Regions from separate parts of the Homo sapiens genome. Here regions 2, 3, 4 and 5 are each linked to region 1. The links are contacts of gene promoters, found by promoter capture Hi-C in blood cells and fetal thymus (Javierre and others, 2016). All regions are on one chromosome and are shown on one strand. The core of a region is centred on a gene start or on the middle of the fragment in contact, and the rest is flanking DNA. Distances in the headings are between cores, read along the strand shown. Region 1 holds the start of BBIP1 (BBSome interacting protein 1). Region 2 overlaps MXI1 (MAX interactor 1, dimerization protein). Region 3 has its middle 49 kb from the start of SMNDC1. Region 4 overlaps ADD3 (adducin 3). Region 5 overlaps ADD3 (adducin 3).

Region 1 (3,486 bases), core at 203-2,702:
ATAATATCATGTGCATGGTGAAAATGACGGGAAGACGAATCTGATACAAACCATTCTATTTAGGTGCAGACATGGTAGTGAAGCTAAAAACATAAGCGCTATTATATATATATAACATACTGATTGTCATAAAAGATGTACAAAAAATGCTAAACTCAGAGGAAATTACTTCCTGCTGGGAAGAATCTGGAAACACATCTCCACGGGTAACAGAATCAGATACAGAATCACAAAAGGTGACTGCTACAACAGATTTCAGTAATTAACAGCAAAGAAACAAGAGTAGTTCATTTTGGCTGGCGTGTAAGTACTAAGGAAGCAGAAATTAAGTCGAGAAGGTAGGTTTGCATCTGTATTGTTGACTGGCTGGATATTAACCATTTTCAATTTTACCTGAAAGTTCTGGTCTTTTTGCTGCAGCTTTAAGCATCCAACCCGGTATTACCAAGATGACTTAGAGTTCTTGACTCAAGCATACAGAAGAAACTACAAGATAATGTATGATAACTTTGTAAAGGGCCATATAAAAGCAATACAGTATTTTCAAAAATCTTCAACACGTTGTTTAAGAAACTGTAGACCTGCAGGAATCCCACCACCAGAACCGCAGTCAAAGCTTACAAAGACTCAAAGGAGAGACGCGGAAAGGGGGGAAAAATCAGAATGGGAAGGCAGGTGGCAGGGGAAAAAGATTGAGGTCCTGCCCTGGTGGTAGGGGCTCATCTTTTCCTTTTATAGGTGAAGGTGGAAAATGATTTTCTGAAGTTCCCGAATTCTCCTCCCTCCAAAGGCCAAGGAGTGAAAGTACTTAATAGGAACTTGCGGAGGCGTGGTCAAGAGCTCCGTTTTGCCGGAGTTAGGAGCTCCGCCCCGAGGTCCCCGCCCATTCCCCGCTGGGGTCCTCCCGGCCGGGCTGCCTCTGGCTGGGTTAGGGCGGCCTGTAGAGCGGCCTCACCCCACAGGGAGCCTCACGGGGGCGGGCCGCCGCCAGGCCAGCCCGGAAAAAAACCGCCTTCCAACGGAAGCGGCCCTGAGCCCCGCTCGCCATTTCAGCGCTCTGTCCCACAGGGACCGTCCGGCCCGGGTCCGGCCCACTGGTTGGGGTCCACGGACTCACCTCACTTTGCAACTAAGGTCAAAAATAAGCATTCCCTGGGGCACGGGCGGCCAGGCTATTAACACCCTTCCGCCATGACCCAATTCGGAAGTGCCAAATGCAACTTCCGGGCAGGAGAGGGAATTTCGGAGCCCTAAACTGTTGTCCATCTCCGTAAGTGACCAGACGTCTCAGTAAAATAAGGGCCAGGAAACTGGACGTGTAATCCGGAGTATGAATTAACTTGTCTAACATGGGATGTGTGGTCACCCACGGTACCTCTTTGGGCTTACTTACAGATGCATCCCTTCCCAGACGGCTCAGCTGTTGCCCCGGGTAACGGTGAGACTGGCGAAGGAAAAAAATCTACGTCACCCTGGAAACAGGAAGCCAGGAATCTCCTTTTGCCATTATCAGTTATGGCCGCCTTAGCTTCAACAGTAACTTCCGATCGGGGAGTTGTCACTCTACCCTGCTGGAGGCTTACTCTGTAGCCCGGCTAGCCAGAGGCGCCCAGTGGGCGGGAGACGGCGTAGAGGAACTGAGGAAAGGACAAGGGCGGAGAGAGAGAAGCTGGCGGCACTGCCCGTCTCTGATTGGGCAGCTTCTCTTGCCCCGGTTCCGCCCATTTTTCTTGCCTAGCGAGTGACGGGCCCACGGCAGAGGGGTGGGGCGGGGAGGCTGGAGCGAGAGTAGTGGCGGGGCGGGCGGGGCGGGGCGAGTGGGGGAGGGGCGGGCGGGGGGCGGCGGTTGGGCAGCGTCGCTTCTTAGGAGGAGGAGGAAGAGGAGGAAGGAGGGCGAGCGAGGAGGATGGCGGAGTCGGGGCTCCTGACGGTAACTCGGGGCCGATGAGGCGGAGGGTGTCTGTTGGTCGGTTCTTCCTGCCTGCCTTCCTGTCCGTCGGGCAGTCGGGCTGGCTGTCGGTAGGGGGAGGCCCCGTGCGCCCTGACAGGCGCGAGCCGGCAGCGCCGGGGCGAGGCCCGAGGGGCCGGGGCCCTGGGAGGCGCCGCCGCCGCCGCTTTCCTGGTTGCTGTCTCCGGGAGTGCGGGGCCCTTGGAGCCGGCTCGCGTGGGAGCCTGCAGCCCGGCGCGGAGAGGAAGGCGGTCGGGTGTGACAGCGGCCGGGGCCGGGCCTGCGGCGGCGGCGGCGGGCGGCCCGGACAGCGCCTGGGCGACGGCGAGCCGGCGCGAGGGCGCGGGCCGGGGGCCCCCGGCGGACAGTCTCTCTCCTCTCGGCTCCCTGGGCCCCCGGGCCCAGTCCGCAGGGCGCCCCGAGTCGTGTAAATCGTTGGCGAGGGCCCGGGCGCAGCGGCGGTCATACAGGGTGGGGTCTCTTCTCGCCCCCTCCCTGGAGTCCACCTTGCTCTCCCGTTCTCCTCTCCCTAAAAACCCTTGAGTGAAGAGTGCTGGATCGGCTCTGGGTGTGTTGCCTAGCGAAGCGAGTTGTAGCCCTTCGAGACCGCCTCGTAGAACATGCCCGATGGCAACCTCTCCCCGTGATAGCACAGCTTTTAGGGAGAGAGGAAAAGTAGTCTCACTCTTCCCCGACTTCCCCAGGCTCATAACACAAGAGGCTTTGGGGCAAGACGATTTTTCCCCCAGCACCTCAATATCCATTGTTTTTGTACCATCCCCCTCCCCCCATGCCTAGGTGGAAGAGTAATGACTCCAAAGCATTAACTTGCCTTTCTCTTTATTTCTTTTCTTTCTTTTTCTTTTCTTCCTTCCTTTCTTTAAGCAGGCAGTTTGTGTTATTGTGGAATTATGGATTTACAAACAGGTGGAATAAATACCGATTCGGGAGCTAGAAAGAAGATGCTTTGTGTGTGTGTTTAAGCCCTTACAGTTGGCAGTTTGATTTTTCTTGTCTGTTGCTTTGTATCGTAATGGGGGTGATGAGAATAAAAGAGGAAGCACTGTTTTGCAACCTACCCAAAGAAATATTTTCGAAGTCTCTGGGGATGCTGAAGCAAAATTAGGTTGCAGATGTGGACTGTATAGTATTTGCCTCCAGCGTGATAACTACCAGCAGTGTCTAGGCTTACACCTGTGCCATTTCGTATACTTTTCTTAGATACCGAGTGCGTCTAGTTTCTACTCAAGAGGGACTACTATATCAAAAGCTTTTTGTTACGGTTTTCAGAATCCTAAGGTACATTTGTGTAACCAAGTGTTTTTGTAACTAAATGCAGCAACACCACTGAAAAATAGTTTTAATTTTAAAGACCTCAATTTATTAGTGTACTTACTAATCTTTACCCTCATCCTCCATGCTGTGGACTGTAGAACTGTTACTGTGTACTTGAAGAGACTTAGCTATTGCATCCAATTTGTAACATTCAGTAAGGTTATATTTATAATTTGAATTTATCAAGTGTTGATGTTTTGCTG
Region 2 (3,258 bases), core at 283-2,782, 690 kb before region 1:
ACTGCAAGCATGCCATATTGTTCTGATAGTGCCCAAAGGAGAATATGTGTACATTAGACCACCTAAAACAGGAGAAGATACTTTTTTTATGGGAATATAAGTAGCAAGAAAGAGAGAGAGAGAGAAAAATATATTTTAGAATATATTATCTCAAGATCCACCAATGTGTGGGTTTTGGGCTGGGGCTTATGAGAGAGAACTAGTATGTTAAAATGAAACACTAGAAATTATTTCTCCTTTGCCACTTATTTAAAATGCCTGCTTCATGGAAGTAAGGAGAGCTGAGGTAGAAATTCCAATACTGGGGTATTTGGACAATAGTGTTGGTCCATTTGAAAGAGGACACTGTAGGCTTCTTCTTAATTTTAAGTTTACTATTGGATTTTAATGAGATTTTATTATGCTGGTTACATAAAGCAGAAAGTTAGAAGACTTACAGAAATTTCCATGTATTTATCATCTGAAACAAGGAAAGGAATGGACTTCATAAGTATATATGTCTTATTTTTTCCTGATCAAAAAGCTACTAGTGTGGAAGTAGCTGTTATTTTATTACTATACATCTTGAACACTGATGTATGTTATAAAATGACATTTGTTTCTCTGACATCGTAGCATCTTTAAGATATAATGGTGATTGACTATTTTACCCCTGATATTCTCAGGTATTATATGATATGCCTGATAAAATGTTACTTTAGGCAGGGTGCAGTGGCTCACGCCTGTAATTCCAGCACTTTGGGAGGCTGAGGTAGGTGGATTGCCTGAGGTCAGGAGTTCGAGACCAGCCTGGCCAACATGATGAAACCCTGTCTCTACTAAAAATACAGAAATTAGCCAGGTGTGGTAGTGTGTGCCTGTAATCTCTGCTACTTGGGAGGCTGAGACAGGATAATTGCTGGAACTTGGGAGGCGGAGGTTGCAGTGAGCTGAGATTGCATCACTGCATTCCAGCCTGGGCAACAGAGTGATAATCCACCCCCCCCCCCTCAAAAAAGTAACTTTATAAATTTATGCTGAAAGTAGTTAACTCCTAATATTATAAATTCCTATTCCCCTTTCCCCCATTCCTTAAAATCTTATTTTCAAAGAAGTAAAAAGGAGAGAAAATAAATGATATAATGTGATATTACAAATATGTTCCTTGCAAATACCAGTAATTTTATCATTTGGGATCCTTCTGATAGTTGGAAGTGGCACCTATAATATATAATTAAAATAAATGCTTGATTTTACTGTGGTCTTGGTCACAGCCTTCTGGCACACTTCCAAAAATCAACATTGCTAAGATGTTACTGCTGTTAGAGAATGTGGCTGCAATAGCTATCTGGCTTTTTGGGGAGCATCAGATAAGTTCAAATTCCAGCTTCTTTACTATTTGGTACCACAGGTGAAAAATCTCAAGGTCTGTCATCCTTAAAACTCTACTAAATAAGCCATGACTGCAGTGTAACACTGATTTCTTCCTAAATATCTCTTCAGTCGGCCTTCTTTCCTGTTACCTTCATTACTATCCTCCTAATCTCAGCTACCATCATCTCTTACTTGGACGACTGCAGTAACTTCCTACCTGGTGTCCCTGCAACTACAGTTTTTTTTTTTGTCTGGTTCTGTTGCCCAGGCTGGAGTGCAGTGGCGCGATCTCAGCTCGCTGCAAGCTCTGCCTTCTGGGTTCACGCCATTCTCCTGCCTCAGCCTCCCGAGTAGCTAGGACTACAGGTGCCTGCCACCATGCCCGGCTAATTTTTTGTATTTTTAGTAGAGACAGGGTTTCACTGTGTTAGCCAGGATGGTCTCAATCTCCTGACCTCATGAACCGCCCGGCTTGGCCTCCCAAAGTGCTGGGATTACAGGTGTGACCCACCGCACTTGGCCAGTTCTTATGAATTACATTGGCCAGCCTTCTTTTGATTCCTTCAGTACGCGTTTTCTTCTACCTCAAGATCTTTGCATACTTTCTGTTCCCTGCAGGGAATCATTTTCCCTCCCCCTTTGTTATCTCTGTTGAATAACACTCTTCTTCAGCTCAATCATAAGTTCCTCAGGAATGTTTCCTCATCTGCCGTAGTAGATCAGGTCTTCACATACTTCATGGCACCCCTATTTTTCCTTCATAGTGTTCATCACATTTGTAGAAATACAGTTATCCAGTTGTTTCTTAAATTCGTGTCCTATTCACTGGATTAAAAACCCTGCGAGGCGGGCAGGGATTGAGTCTCTTCTGCTTAAACATTTATCCCTAGTACTTATCACAGTGCCCCGTAAATAGTATGTGTTTCTTAAAGAATGGAAGGTTTTCAAACTCCAAGCAGACTGTCTTAAATTGAATTTCTTTTTTGTGCTGAGTACCATATTAGACTGGAAGGAAGAGTGATAAAACCCCTGTTTTGGCAAACTCTGATTACTTTGTGTTCCAAGGGATGTTAATGATACATTTGGAAAAACAGCATGTAGTATTTAAAGAATAAAAATCTCTAAACTGTCAATTCTTTTAAACAAGCAGGCTACAGAATGCTACACTTAATTTTGAAGAACATTCAGTGTCATCCTGTGTCATGAAAATAAAATAATACCAAACTTGCATATTGAAAGAAACAGAAGTCTTTCAGATATTGGCAATAAATATTCATATGAGCCTGTGACACACACATAGTAATTGCATTGTTTTAAGGTAATCTGGGAAGTAGTAAATAGCCAATTTATGCTTTAATTTCAAGTTGATATATTTCTTCTCTTTAGTGTCCTATGGATACTAAAGAATCTCATAAAAGCAGTATCTCAGTTCCACTTTCTAAGATTGAGGACACTAAAAAACAACTTTTCTGTTGTTTATAAGGCTTTAGTTTAATTTTTCTTAAACTGTAGAATAAAGAAATGCTTTAGTCTTATTTTAGATAGAATTATTGTATTGTTATTTTTTAGCTTTGCATCCTTTTCAGCTATCTTCATGGATTTTTAGTTTTTCTGGGGAGAGGGATGGTGGTGAATTATTTTCCTAGGATAGTTTCAAAGGATTTTTTCCAGTAGTAATTTGAGATGCTTTATCTTCTCTTTATTCTACGTGAACCTATTTGTTCACAGAAGAATTGAATGAAGCCTTATTTTTATTTTTGTGTAATTTTTTTCTACTATTCTGTGTTTTTCAAATTTTTTTATATTAAAAAGTAGTTTCTGGGTCTTTGTTCCGTAGAAAACTCCCAAAGTTTCAGGACAAAAATGTAGATTAGTAGCAGTTAAACTCTTAATGATGTTGTTATT
Region 3 (3,548 bases), core at 225-2,724, 570 kb before region 1:
GGAATTGAGCAGTTGTTTTGTAAAATGAGTTGCAATAGGTCAGAAATTAACAAAGTGGATTAAATCTGACCCACCTCCTGCTTTTGTATTAAAAAAGGTTTCTTAGAACATAGCCTTGCTCACTCATTTACATGTTGTCACACTATGGCTGCAGAGTTGAGTGGCTGGGATAGAAACTGTGATCTGCAAAGTCTAAAATATTTATTATTTGACCCTTTACAGTAAAACCTGCAAATCCCTGCAGTAGATGGTGTCATGCGTGGGGCAGGAGCTTGTGGGGGTGGGAGGGGTGAATGCCTACCAGATAAGGAAATTCACAGCTCCTGGTTAAAAGTAACATTCAATTCCTTGGAGTGACTATTTTTGTAGTCTTAACAATAGCAAACACTTAACACGGTGCTCATTGTGTGCCAGGAAGTATTTTAAGTGCTTTACACATAACAATGCTTAATTATTAATTATTATTATTATCATCCCCATTTTAGAGGTGAGGAAGTAGGCACACAGAGAGATCAAGAAGTATGCTGGAGCTCACACAGCTAGCAAGGGGCAGAGCCAAGGTTCGATGCTGGGCAATCCATGCCAGAGACTGTGTGCAGAGTCCCCCCAGTTTAGCAGCTCATATCCTTAGGAACCCTGGGTATTCATCAATTCATTCAACAAGAATGTATGGAGCTCTGCCGCAATAAACACCCAGTGCTAGATTCTGTAAAAAGTGCCAGCTGTTTCTTTCCACGTGCATATTTCCTTACCATTTTCCTGACAGCCCCAGACACCCTGATGTGTGATGCCTGCCGCTCACCTGGGAGCAGAAACGTTATTCTCAGGATGGTGACTGTTTTGATGCACTGGCCTTGGGAGGTCAGGGAAGCTATGACAGAGCAAAGGCTTTTCCGGAACATAGACAAAGTGCTGAAGCCACGATGCAGTGATCTAAGGCATAGTCAGCGTTGAGTAAGGCAGGGAGGGAGGCTGCTGGGCACTGTCATGACGCTGAGAGACTCGTCACTTAGCCATGAGGACGTCTCGCTTCTACTGAGGCTGTGGCTCTGCTGAAAGCCACATCGTGATTAACTAGAGAGGATGAGAATGCTGGGTGTACCCTCCCCCTCCCCCAACCTCACCCCCAAGAGCACCAGTCAGTTGTATTCAGCTGTGTAATTATCCTATCATAGTTTATTTCCTATCTTCCTGCAGAGGTGATTGGTGCAAGAAAATTAAGTATGTGGCATCTTGTCAGGAGACAGAAAATTTCATACTGATTATTTCATCTAAGGTTGGGAGAGGGAAGGAGGCTGCTCTGCTGCAGTGTGTTTCAGAGGAAGCAAGGGGCAGGCTGGAGCAGGCACCCACCTGCTGGGATGAACTCACCTGGCCCTGGCCCCCCCGCCCATCCCTGGGTATCTGTGGTCAGATCTGGCTCCTAGTTGCTGGGGGGGTGGATGAGACAAGGGCGGGGTGAGAAACTGTTAAGGTGAATTTGGCTACAGTTGGTAACAGTGCTCTCCTTCTACAGCCCCTGCTCCCCGGGCAGCAAGCCTGGGAGGAGAGAAACTGAGGTACAACTGAGGTTGTACCTCAGGCTTCTTTATCACATAAATCCTTCCCCTCCCCACCCCAGCAACCCAACACTGAGAAGAAACAGAGGAAGAAGAAAGAATACTTGATCAGGGCTCCCTGGCCCTTAGTAGGGAGGTAGTCACACACACATGACAGATGGCGATCTGTCACGGAGTCATGGGTGTCAAGTTGAAAAAAAGAAAAAGAATACACTCTACCCTACACTAAATGGAATGAAAGGGAAAATACGGAGTATGAACGACAGGCTGTTCCCTCAAGACAGCTCCATTATCTGGAGGCGAGTCCAGCGGACAGGAGAGGGCGCTGTTTCAGAGCTTCTTCCTCATTACTGATGTGTGCAGCCCTCAGAGGATGCCCATCTCAGCCATCTACTCACGACCTTGGCTGACAGCCCCTGGCATGACCGCTGGTGAGCCAGCCAACTGGGAATTTGAGGGAGCCTCACAACTCAGAGACAGGCTCTTGAGAAAAGGAGGGAGCATCCAGAACCCACTTTAAAGATACACAGAGGAGCCCTGGAGGTCTGCGCCTGCTTGGCTGGTGGCTCCGCTCTGAGGATCTGGGCCCATTCACTGCACTGACCACCTGCTCATCTACCGTTTGTGCCTACAGGCTAAAGGCTTAAGCAAGCTCCCAGTTGCACTCAGGCCTGGACAGGATTTCAGGAATGAGTGGCCCAGCGGGCATTTATTCCTATGCCCTGATCCAAACCTCCAGATGCCACCATTTGTTTAAATCAGCAAGGGATGGGAGACAGCCTCCACATGCCAGGCCAAAGGCACCAAGGACCTAGGCCCTGCTCACACAGAGCTTAAGGTCTCACAGAAGCACATGGACCTGAAACAAATAAATACAAAACTGTAAGTGATTCTATATGCCATGAAAAAGAAGAGCCAGGTGCCAAGGGGGGGGGGGTGGTACCAGGAGATCTAAGTTTGTTGGGGCTCAGAGGAAGCATCCAGACAGCTGTGCAGCTTTGGGGTCGCGGGGCGGGGGGGATGCTGAGGCTGGGGGAGGGAGAAGCTGTGCAGGAAGAAGCAGTCACACCTGCAAAGCACACAGCTTGGGGCACCAAGCGGACCCCAAACCAAGGTGGGTAGGAAGGGAGAGAGCGAAGCGAGAGGACAGGGCCTCAGCTAGGGCCCAATCAGATTTGACTTTTTCTGGGATTTCCCCAGGCCCCAGGTCTCCAGCTACCAAACAGAGCAGCCCAAGTTCTTTCTCAGGAGCTTTGCATATTATTTGCTTACAACTTCTCTTGCTTTCTCTCTCTCTCCTTTATGTTTCTTATTGCATTTATACTCACATGTTGTGGGAGTCTTTTTTTCCTGTCTGTGTTTGTATTTCAAAGCCATCATCCTGCCCTCCCTGAGCTGCACTAGGCAAAAATATGTGTCCAGGATAGACGAAAAGACATAAGAAAGACCCTCTGAGGGGACCTAACTTGGGGTCTCCTTCCCCTGAAGACCCCACTCCCTGTCCAGTGCTGAAGGCATAACTGTTACAATAGAGAAAAGGAGGCAGTCAAGAGCTGGATCCGAGTCCAGTTGGGTGACCTTGCACAAGTTGCTCACCCCTTTGGGATTTGTTGCCTCATCTGTGAAATGAGTGGACCGCACTAGGTAACCGGTTCCCTATCTGGGATCTGCAGATAGGCTTTAGGGAATCTAAGAATCCCTAAAACTGTAGGTAAAATTTGGTAGACTTGAGTAGACATTGTTCTGGGGGAGGTTCCATAACTCTCATTCAATTCTCAAAGGCAACCAAGACCCCAAAAATGTTAGGAACACCTGCCCTGGGTGATGTCCACCAGCCCACAGCTTTCAGAAGCCTCATCCGAGGTGCTCTTACCATAAAGATGAAGAGACACAAGCTTCCGTTGCCCAAGAGAGCAGGGAGACTCTGGGAGTGTTCTAGGCAGGGAAAGGAAGGCAGGTGACAAACAGGAAGCATTGCTGTGTGCGCAT
Region 4 (3,497 bases), core at 313-2,812, 790 kb before region 1:
AAAACCAAGGCAAGAAGGGTTAATTAATCATGTTTTAATGGTAAACTCGGGATTTGCATGAAGACAGTCTGACTCTTGAGCCCAGTTCTTGTCCACTACATGATACTGCTTTGTAGTTTCTATTAAACTACACCAGTAGTTTAATTCACCAGTGAATTAAAACTGTAAAAGTTATCAACTCCTAATTGTACCAAAGCTGCATGAATCACTGCACATAGCTACCCTTAGGCAAGATCTTGTAGGTAGAGAAATGGGTTATTTTATCTTTTTCAGAATTTTGCATTAGATTTGGTTTGGTTTGGTTTTGGAGTGCATACCACCAAACATTCTCTAGGTCAGTCTTGTCCAGTCCATGGCCCAGGATGGCTTTGGATGCAGCTCAACACAAATTTGTAAACTTTATTAAAACATTATGAGAATTTTTTGTGATTTTGTTAAACTAATCAGCTATCGTTAGTGTTGGTGTATTTTATATGTGGCCCAAGACAGTTCTTCCAATGTGGCCCAGGGAAGTCAAAAGATTGGACACCACAGTTCTAGATATTCAGAATTAGTTCATCTTATATAAACTAATGGCATTCAATATGAAAATACCTAGGCATCAAAATGTCTTTTCTGTAGTCTATAAGATTTCTTGCCTCCCAGTAAAAGAACATAATTAAACTCATTGGTTTCTCAGAATTCATTTTGTTTACAGAGATTGATGGTCAGCCATCATTAATCTTGATCGAGATTCGCTTTCTTTAAGGATTATAATATGGGGTAAATGAGAAGAATTATGTAAGCTCCTTCCAACCCCGTGGTTCTATTTTGCTATTATATACCAGATTATCCCCATTATAAAATGCCGATTAGGGCTTGGCCTTTTCTGTCAGCCAAAAATAAAAAGTGAAGTCTGATAAACTAAAATCTTAAGATATTTCTTAAGTTTTTTTTTTTTTTGATTACTCCTTTGCCATCTTCATCTGACTGCTGTCTTCAGTGCAGAAGACAAAACACTGAATGTGAGTGAATGTGAGATCATGCTCTCTGTGCTTGAAGTAGTTTCAGCATCATATTTTCACTTGACACAAGGAGAAAGTTTAATTAGCAGTATAATTGAATATTTATGTGAATCGTAATGGCATTTATTTTTTAAGTAAATGTTGATTTTGAGCCTTTTCTAACTAGTATGAGATGAAACTAATTCACCACTAAGATACTGCTTAGTGAAATTATTTAAACATTGGCAATGCCCCTCTTGAGACTATAAGCAGTTATCTAACAATCTACTAATATTTTCTTAACACAAAGCTTCATTTTAGAAAATTTTTGATTCTTTAGTGGATGAAAGCAGAAGACTCATCTAAAGTTAGTGGTGGAACACCTATCAAAATTGAAGATCCAAATCAGTTTGTTCCTTTAAACACAAACCCGAATGAGGTACTAGAAAAGAGAAATAAGGTAAGACATGGTCTTCTATAGCCAGGGGAGACATTTTAATTGCTTTATGTTTAAATCACCAGTGGTTGAATCTGGTTAATGCCAAACTTAGAAGTTTGAATACAGAAGAATTTGGAATTTAATTCAGTATAATTTTAGCTTATATTGAATGCCTCCAGCTCTGTGCTAGTAATTGGTGAACAGGCTACATGGGGAAGATGTATTGAACATTTTTCTGCGTTAGAGAACCCTGCTATTAGGGGGAAAATGCAGTTCTCTAACAACCTAAGACGAAAGGAAATAACTTGCCATAAAGAGCAGAGGAGACTAATATGAGTTGTTAGGATGGTAAAAGAGGTCTTTATGGAGGTGGGAATTGAAGAGACTCTCACTCTGGAAATGTCAAGTAGTAAGCTTTTATGAAAAGATAAAGCAAAGGTCATCTGCATAGTTGCCCTCAAGAACTTTATATTGAATTGTTTTTCAATTCAGATTCGGGAACAAAATCGATATGACTTGAAAACAGCAGGACCACAATCTCAGTTGCTTGCTGGAATTGTTGTGGATAAGCCACCTTCTGTAAGTTTATGAAGTAGTATGATCTTTGTTTTTTATTTACCACATTAATTTCATTGATTTTTAAATATGAATATTTATTTTTACTAAGGTTAATATAAGCACAAGTTAAAAAGTCAACTCACAAGATTTAAAATGTCACCCACAATTCCCAGTTTCCAGGTGCAGCAACTTTCTGTTCTTTTCATTGCTTCTAATGTTTACTTTGGTGTTTCTGGTTAGTTAGTTGAGATGAGGTCTCACTCTGTTGCCCAGGATAGTCGTGAACACCTGATCTCAGGTGATCCTCCAGCCTTGACCTCCTGAAGTATTGGGATTACAGGTATAAACCACTGCTCCTCGTCCTCCTTTGATGTTTCTAAAGAGCATCTTCTGCTTTTTCTTGGTCTATCAGTTTTAGACCTTGACTATTTTTCATCAAATCTGTGTTATCCGTTATAAGAAGTACCATTGTTTTATATGTCACTAAAAGAGAAAAAACACTGCCAATTATAATTGTTCCCAATTTCAGAGATGGAAAAAGTTCATCTTAGAATTAATGAAATATTTTTGAAAGATGGGGATTTAGCCTGTTTATACAGTGCTTCCCTTTTTCCCTCTCCCCATTCTCCCAGTAAGGATACATCACAGTTTTTGTTTTTTGTTTTTTGTTTTTTTCTGTTAGATCAGCTTTCGTTATTTATATTACTACATGTTTGCTGCTAAGCCAGGTAGTATTTCCTTTCTTACATAAGTCACCCCTCCCTACTCTCACCTTGCCTTTTTTTCATTGGCTTATTATTTGGGGTACATTGGCTTAGTTCTTCCCGAACTTTTTAAAAGAATTATAAAGTCCCGGCTGGGTGCAGTGGCTCACGCCTGTAATCCCAGCACTTTGGGAGGCCGAGGCGGGCAGATCACGAGGTCAAGAGATCAAGACCATCCTGGCCAACATGGTGAAACCCCATCTCTACTGAAAATACAAAAATTAGCTGTGCGTGGTGGCGTGCACCTGTAGTCCCAGCTACTCAGGAGGCTGAGGCAGGAGAATCACTCGAACCCGGGAGGCAGAGGTTGCAGTGAGCCAAGATCATGCCACTGTACTCCAGCCTGGTGACAGAGCGAGACTCCGTCTCAAAAAATAAGAATAACATAAAATCTGTCCTAATATTATTTTCCACAGGGTGAAAGTCAACAGGTAATCTCTCTGTTCCAGCCCCCCTTCATTCTGATCCAAATCTAAATTGGTTGCTCTCAGGCCAGCTGCACAGGTTCATCTGGAGGATTCCTGTGCTGCTGATCTATATTGTATTCCGTTTCCTGTATCTTGTGTCTTCTGCTTTCTTGATTTCCTCCTTTACTGTAGAACGCACCCTCTAATAGCTTTCCGAGAAAAGGATACATAGGTGGTAACAGTCTGAAATGCCTTTATTCTATCTTCAAATGTGCATATAATGGATATAGAATAGTTTAGAAATAATTTTCCCCTGAAATAAGAAAAGCATCATTCTGTTCCCTAT
Region 5 (3,627 bases), core at 1,032-3,531, 850 kb before region 1:
TTGGTTGCTCTGTTCTGACTGTGTTAAGAACACGGGTCTAGGTGCACTGATTGGTTTCTGGTTTAGCAAGCACACCTTGACTTTTGTATTATGGTGAAAGCAAATGCTTGTTAACTGTATAGTGCCTTTTAAAAAAATTCCTGTAGGAAGATATTAATGCTTAGAAAAATCAGTAGATTTGATTAATAAATCATCTATAAAAAACCTGAAATATTTTTCAACTTTCATTTCCTAGAGTGTAGTAAAGGCAGTAACTGTTAAACGTGAAATCAAATAAAGTAATTTGCACCTGGAAGAAAGCCTTTCTAAAATTATTTCTGTAGTTTCTAGCCACATGATTGAAAAATACAATAAATGTATATTATGTTATTACTTCTCATTTGCAGTTTTTATAAACTTTAAAGCAACTTCAGAGGTGCTAACTTGGGCCTTCTTTCTTCCCTCCACCTCCCCTTTTTATTTAAAGCATCATATCATTTATTATATTGGACCAGCAGGAATGAGTTTAAAGAGGTTGAGAACTGTTTCAGATTAATAACTTGGAAATATCCCACAGGAGTCACAGTATTGCTTATCTTGGATTAAGTTTTAAGAATCCAGTCATTGAGAATTATTTCTATAAGCTGCCATATTTAAAGTTGGAGTGAGGAAGAACCTTACACTGATCCACATACCCCAAAATTCGTGTCAGTGTACTTTATGGGGATCTTGTAGTTTGAAGGATGGCATGGTCCACAAGATAAAAAGCTTCATCATGACAGTCAATAAGTAATGTTCTGGGTTTACATAGAGTTTATATTTCTTTCCTCAAGGTTCTCAGTTTTTCATTTTCATGTATAAGGTATACATCGCTTTTCTAAAACACCAACAATGCTAGATTATTTTTGCTTTGATTTGCTTTGTTTTTTTCATATTCCTTTGAATGATTTAGTTATTACTTCTCTTTGTTTAATATTTTTTAAAGGGATAACTATTTATCCTAACTTTCTCTATACTGGAAAAACACCCCCTTTCCTTCCCCCATTTACAGGATTGTGCAACCTTTCAGTTAAACAAAACCAAAATTGTTCACTTGCTCAGTGTTCCACCCCCTTGAAATAAGCCACATAGCTCTCTATGGGTGTGGCCCAGCGTCTTTGGCTGCCACAGTTACTTGATCCCCTTATCTCATGTCACCCTTGGCTCCCTATATTGTCTCTTCATCTGGTTTCTTAGCTCCTCCTTTTCCCGCTTCCACCGAGTTTTTGTACTGCTCCTGTCACTTTGCTTCTCAGAAGTTCAGAAGCAATTGTCATGAGCTTTTCCACCTCCCCCCCTCCTTTCTCTGAATCTTCTGAGGAAGTTACAGTTGGCCCTCCACTTCTGAGGGTTTCGCATTCTCAGATTCAACCAACCACAGATTGAAAATATTAGAGTAAAAATACAGAATAACTACTTACATAGCATTTACATTGTATTAGGCATCATAAGTAATCTAGAGATGATTCAAAGTATTCAGGAGGAAGTACAAAGTTTTATGCAGATACCACTTCATTTTATATCAGAGACTTGAGCATCCTGGATTTTGGTGGCCATGGGAGGTCCTAGAACTAATCCCTGATGGATACCTAGGGACAGCTGTACATATACACTGTCCAAAGAATTCATTGAGGATTTCCTACTCCAGGATTAAACTCCTGAAGTGAACGTTTTGAAAGGCAAAAGGATTTTTTCTTTTTTGTCAAAGTTTAGATGTTGTAGGTGTGAATTCATTAGTATAAAGTACTTACAGCCCTTGCTTTATATAAAGTATATGCTCCTAAAAAGTTGGCTAGTGGCTGGTCATGGTGGCTTATTCCTGTAATCCCAGCACTTTGGGAGGCTGAGGGAGCTGGATCACTTGAGCGCAGGAGTTTGAGATCAGCCTGGGCAACGTGGTGAGACCTCGTCTCTGCAAAAAATAGAAAAATTAGCTGGGCGTGGTCATGTGAGCCTGTGGTCCCAGCTACTTGGGAGGCTGAGCTGGGAGGATTATTTGAGCCCGGGGAGGTTGTGGCTGCAGTGAGCCATGATCATGCCGCTGCACCCAGCCTGGGCAATAGAGTGGGACCCTGTCTTAAAAAAAAAAAATTGCCTGTATCTCAGTATAACATGGTTAAATGCAGGTGCGATTACTATTTAAGACAACCTGGCAAGGAATCTTTAAATAATTTACATAAATAATCCTACCTTAATTTTTCCATTTTAAAGGATTTTTCCTCTCAGGTTGTCATGATTGTATATGCTGTAAATGATCTGCATATTCTTCTTCATAAAAATGGAAGATTTGTTATTTATTTGTACTTCAGTGTGGAAGCATCTTAAACATTAACCCTGTGGCATTTTCTCATCAATAGTAAGTTGATCAAATGAGTGACCCAGTCTCAGCAATTTAACATATCATCCCTTTCAGCTTTAAATGTATATTTAATCACCTTAGCCCATTTTTCAATCCACAAAAGTAACCTTTCTCATATATCAACAGCTTTCTGGGCCAGTGAACCTTAGAACTTAAGTGCCTTACAAAACATAATGCTTATTAGTTGTGTTTTTTTTTTCCCCTTCCCACCCTCTCCCATTAAATCTACCTTGCTTATACTTGATGCTTTTAAGGATTTGAGCTCATAGGGTGTAGTATAATGTAGTGCCACCTTGACCATGAAATTTGTTTACTGACCTTAGTATTAACCTAGAACATTCTTATGCCTCTTTTCATGGTGATGTGGTGTCAGATTACAATTTGACTGGCTTTCAAGATAATTGGTCTTAATTATTTCTAAGTCATTGGTTAATGCAGTGTAAGAACAAGCATTGTTTAAAAAAGAATATAAATGGCTTTTGAGTTTCTTTTCTTAGCATGCAAGTCAGATTAGAGTGAAAGCAAAAGCACATGACACAAAACTGTGGTTCGCTAATAGATTGTAGGCTTCCTGTAGCTTAAATTATACACACCACAGTAAACTGTTACCCAGTGGCAATTTTGATTTCCCTTTTGTATTAGTTGTAATCTGTGATACTTTTATTTAAAGTAAAGCCATGTATTAAAAGTTTATTAAAACATATATTGTCTTTTTTTAATCTTTTTCCTCTTCACCCCATACATATATACTCATTCCTTTTAGACCAAGCTCCAGGGTAACTTGCCCTGTAACCTTTCAAATAGGCTCCTTTCTCTGAATATATCTGTAGTATATCTGTAGTATATCTATTATAATAACAGAGTGTGCTACAATTGTCTCTCCCTCTCCCCTGCCCCAACCCACTAAATTGCTAGTATTTTAGGGTCAGAGACAATGTCTCGTTCATTTCTTACATTTTTTACCATGATACCTGTTCACTTGTAGCATGTAATAGTAGGGGAATGAATAGTTAGTAGAATAAATGTATTTAAGAAAAAAGTAGAAAAGAAATATATGGTGAATTGATTTACCAACTCAGAATTTAAATATAAATTTAAAAAATCTAAAATCAAAGTAGGTTATGTGATCAGTACTGCTGTAGGTTGCAGAGAATAAATTGATACTCTACACTTTAGTTATGTTTGGGAGCAGTATGTATGATTCTGTAAACTGAAATCCCTCTAATATGTACAGAAGAAATACATTTACA

Evidence for each region. Contacts are between HindIII fragments. The CHiCAGO score rates a contact against its expected background, and 5 or more counts as called.
Region 2: a fragment that was not itself captured here is called in contact with the fragment with the promoter of BBIP1 in region 1 in 3 of 17 cell types (neutrophils, fetal thymus and monocytes); the score reaches 8.4 in neutrophils.
Region 3: a contact is called between a fragment that was not itself captured here and the fragment with the promoter of BBIP1 in region 1, in 1 of 17 cell types (fetal thymus). The highest score is 6.6, in fetal thymus.
Region 4: a contact is called between a fragment that was not itself captured here and the fragment with the promoter of BBIP1 in region 1, in 2 of 17 cell types (fetal thymus and neutrophils). The highest score is 6.8, in fetal thymus.
Region 5: a contact is called between a fragment that was not itself captured here and the fragment with the promoter of BBIP1 in region 1, in 1 of 17 cell types (monocytes). The highest score is 6.1, in monocytes.

What each region holds. Positions count from the first base shown.
Region 1 is chr10:110,917,728-110,921,213 of GRCh38, forward strand. BBIP1 (BBSome interacting protein 1) reads right to left here and starts at 1,453. Exons shown (of 4, transcript NM_001195305.3): 1 at 1,394-1,453; 2 at 394-486. The coding sequence starts at 430. It overlaps SHOC2 (SHOC2 leucine rich repeat scaffold protein), which reads left to right and starts at 1,877. Exons shown (of 9, transcript NM_007373.4): 1 at 1,877-1,930. RefSeq lists silencers at 787-946, 1,797-2,236, 2,247-2,336 and enhancers at 1,078-1,617, 1,307-1,506, 1,527-1,576. The HindIII fragment of the contact is 2,602 bases long and covers 615-3,216 here.
Region 2 is chr10:110,230,385-110,233,642 of GRCh38, forward strand. All of the region lies in intron 2 of MXI1 (MAX interactor 1, dimerization protein), which reads left to right. Among named protein-coding and RNA genes, the nearest start is that of MXI1, 24 kb to the left of the region's middle. The HindIII fragment of the contact is 4,532 bases long and covers 1-3,258 here.
Region 3 is chr10:110,352,614-110,356,161 of GRCh38, forward strand. No RefSeq gene overlaps it. Among named protein-coding and RNA genes, the nearest start is that of SMNDC1, 49 kb to the left of the region's middle. RefSeq lists enhancers at 1,935-2,024, 2,855-2,904. The HindIII fragment of the contact is 3,956 bases long and covers 1-3,452 here.
Region 4 is chr10:110,124,503-110,127,999 of GRCh38, forward strand. It overlaps ADD3 (adducin 3), which reads left to right. Exons shown (of 15, transcript NM_016824.5): 11 at 1,324-1,443; 12 at 1,915-2,001. Among named protein-coding and RNA genes, the nearest start is that of MXI1, 81 kb to the right of the region's middle. The HindIII fragment of the contact is 543 bases long and covers 1,292-1,834 here.
Region 5 is chr10:110,066,980-110,070,606 of GRCh38, forward strand. All of the region lies in intron 1 of ADD3 (adducin 3), which reads left to right. Among named protein-coding and RNA genes, the nearest start is that of ADD3-AS1, 60 kb to the left of the region's middle. The HindIII fragment of the contact is 3,073 bases long and covers 746-3,627 here.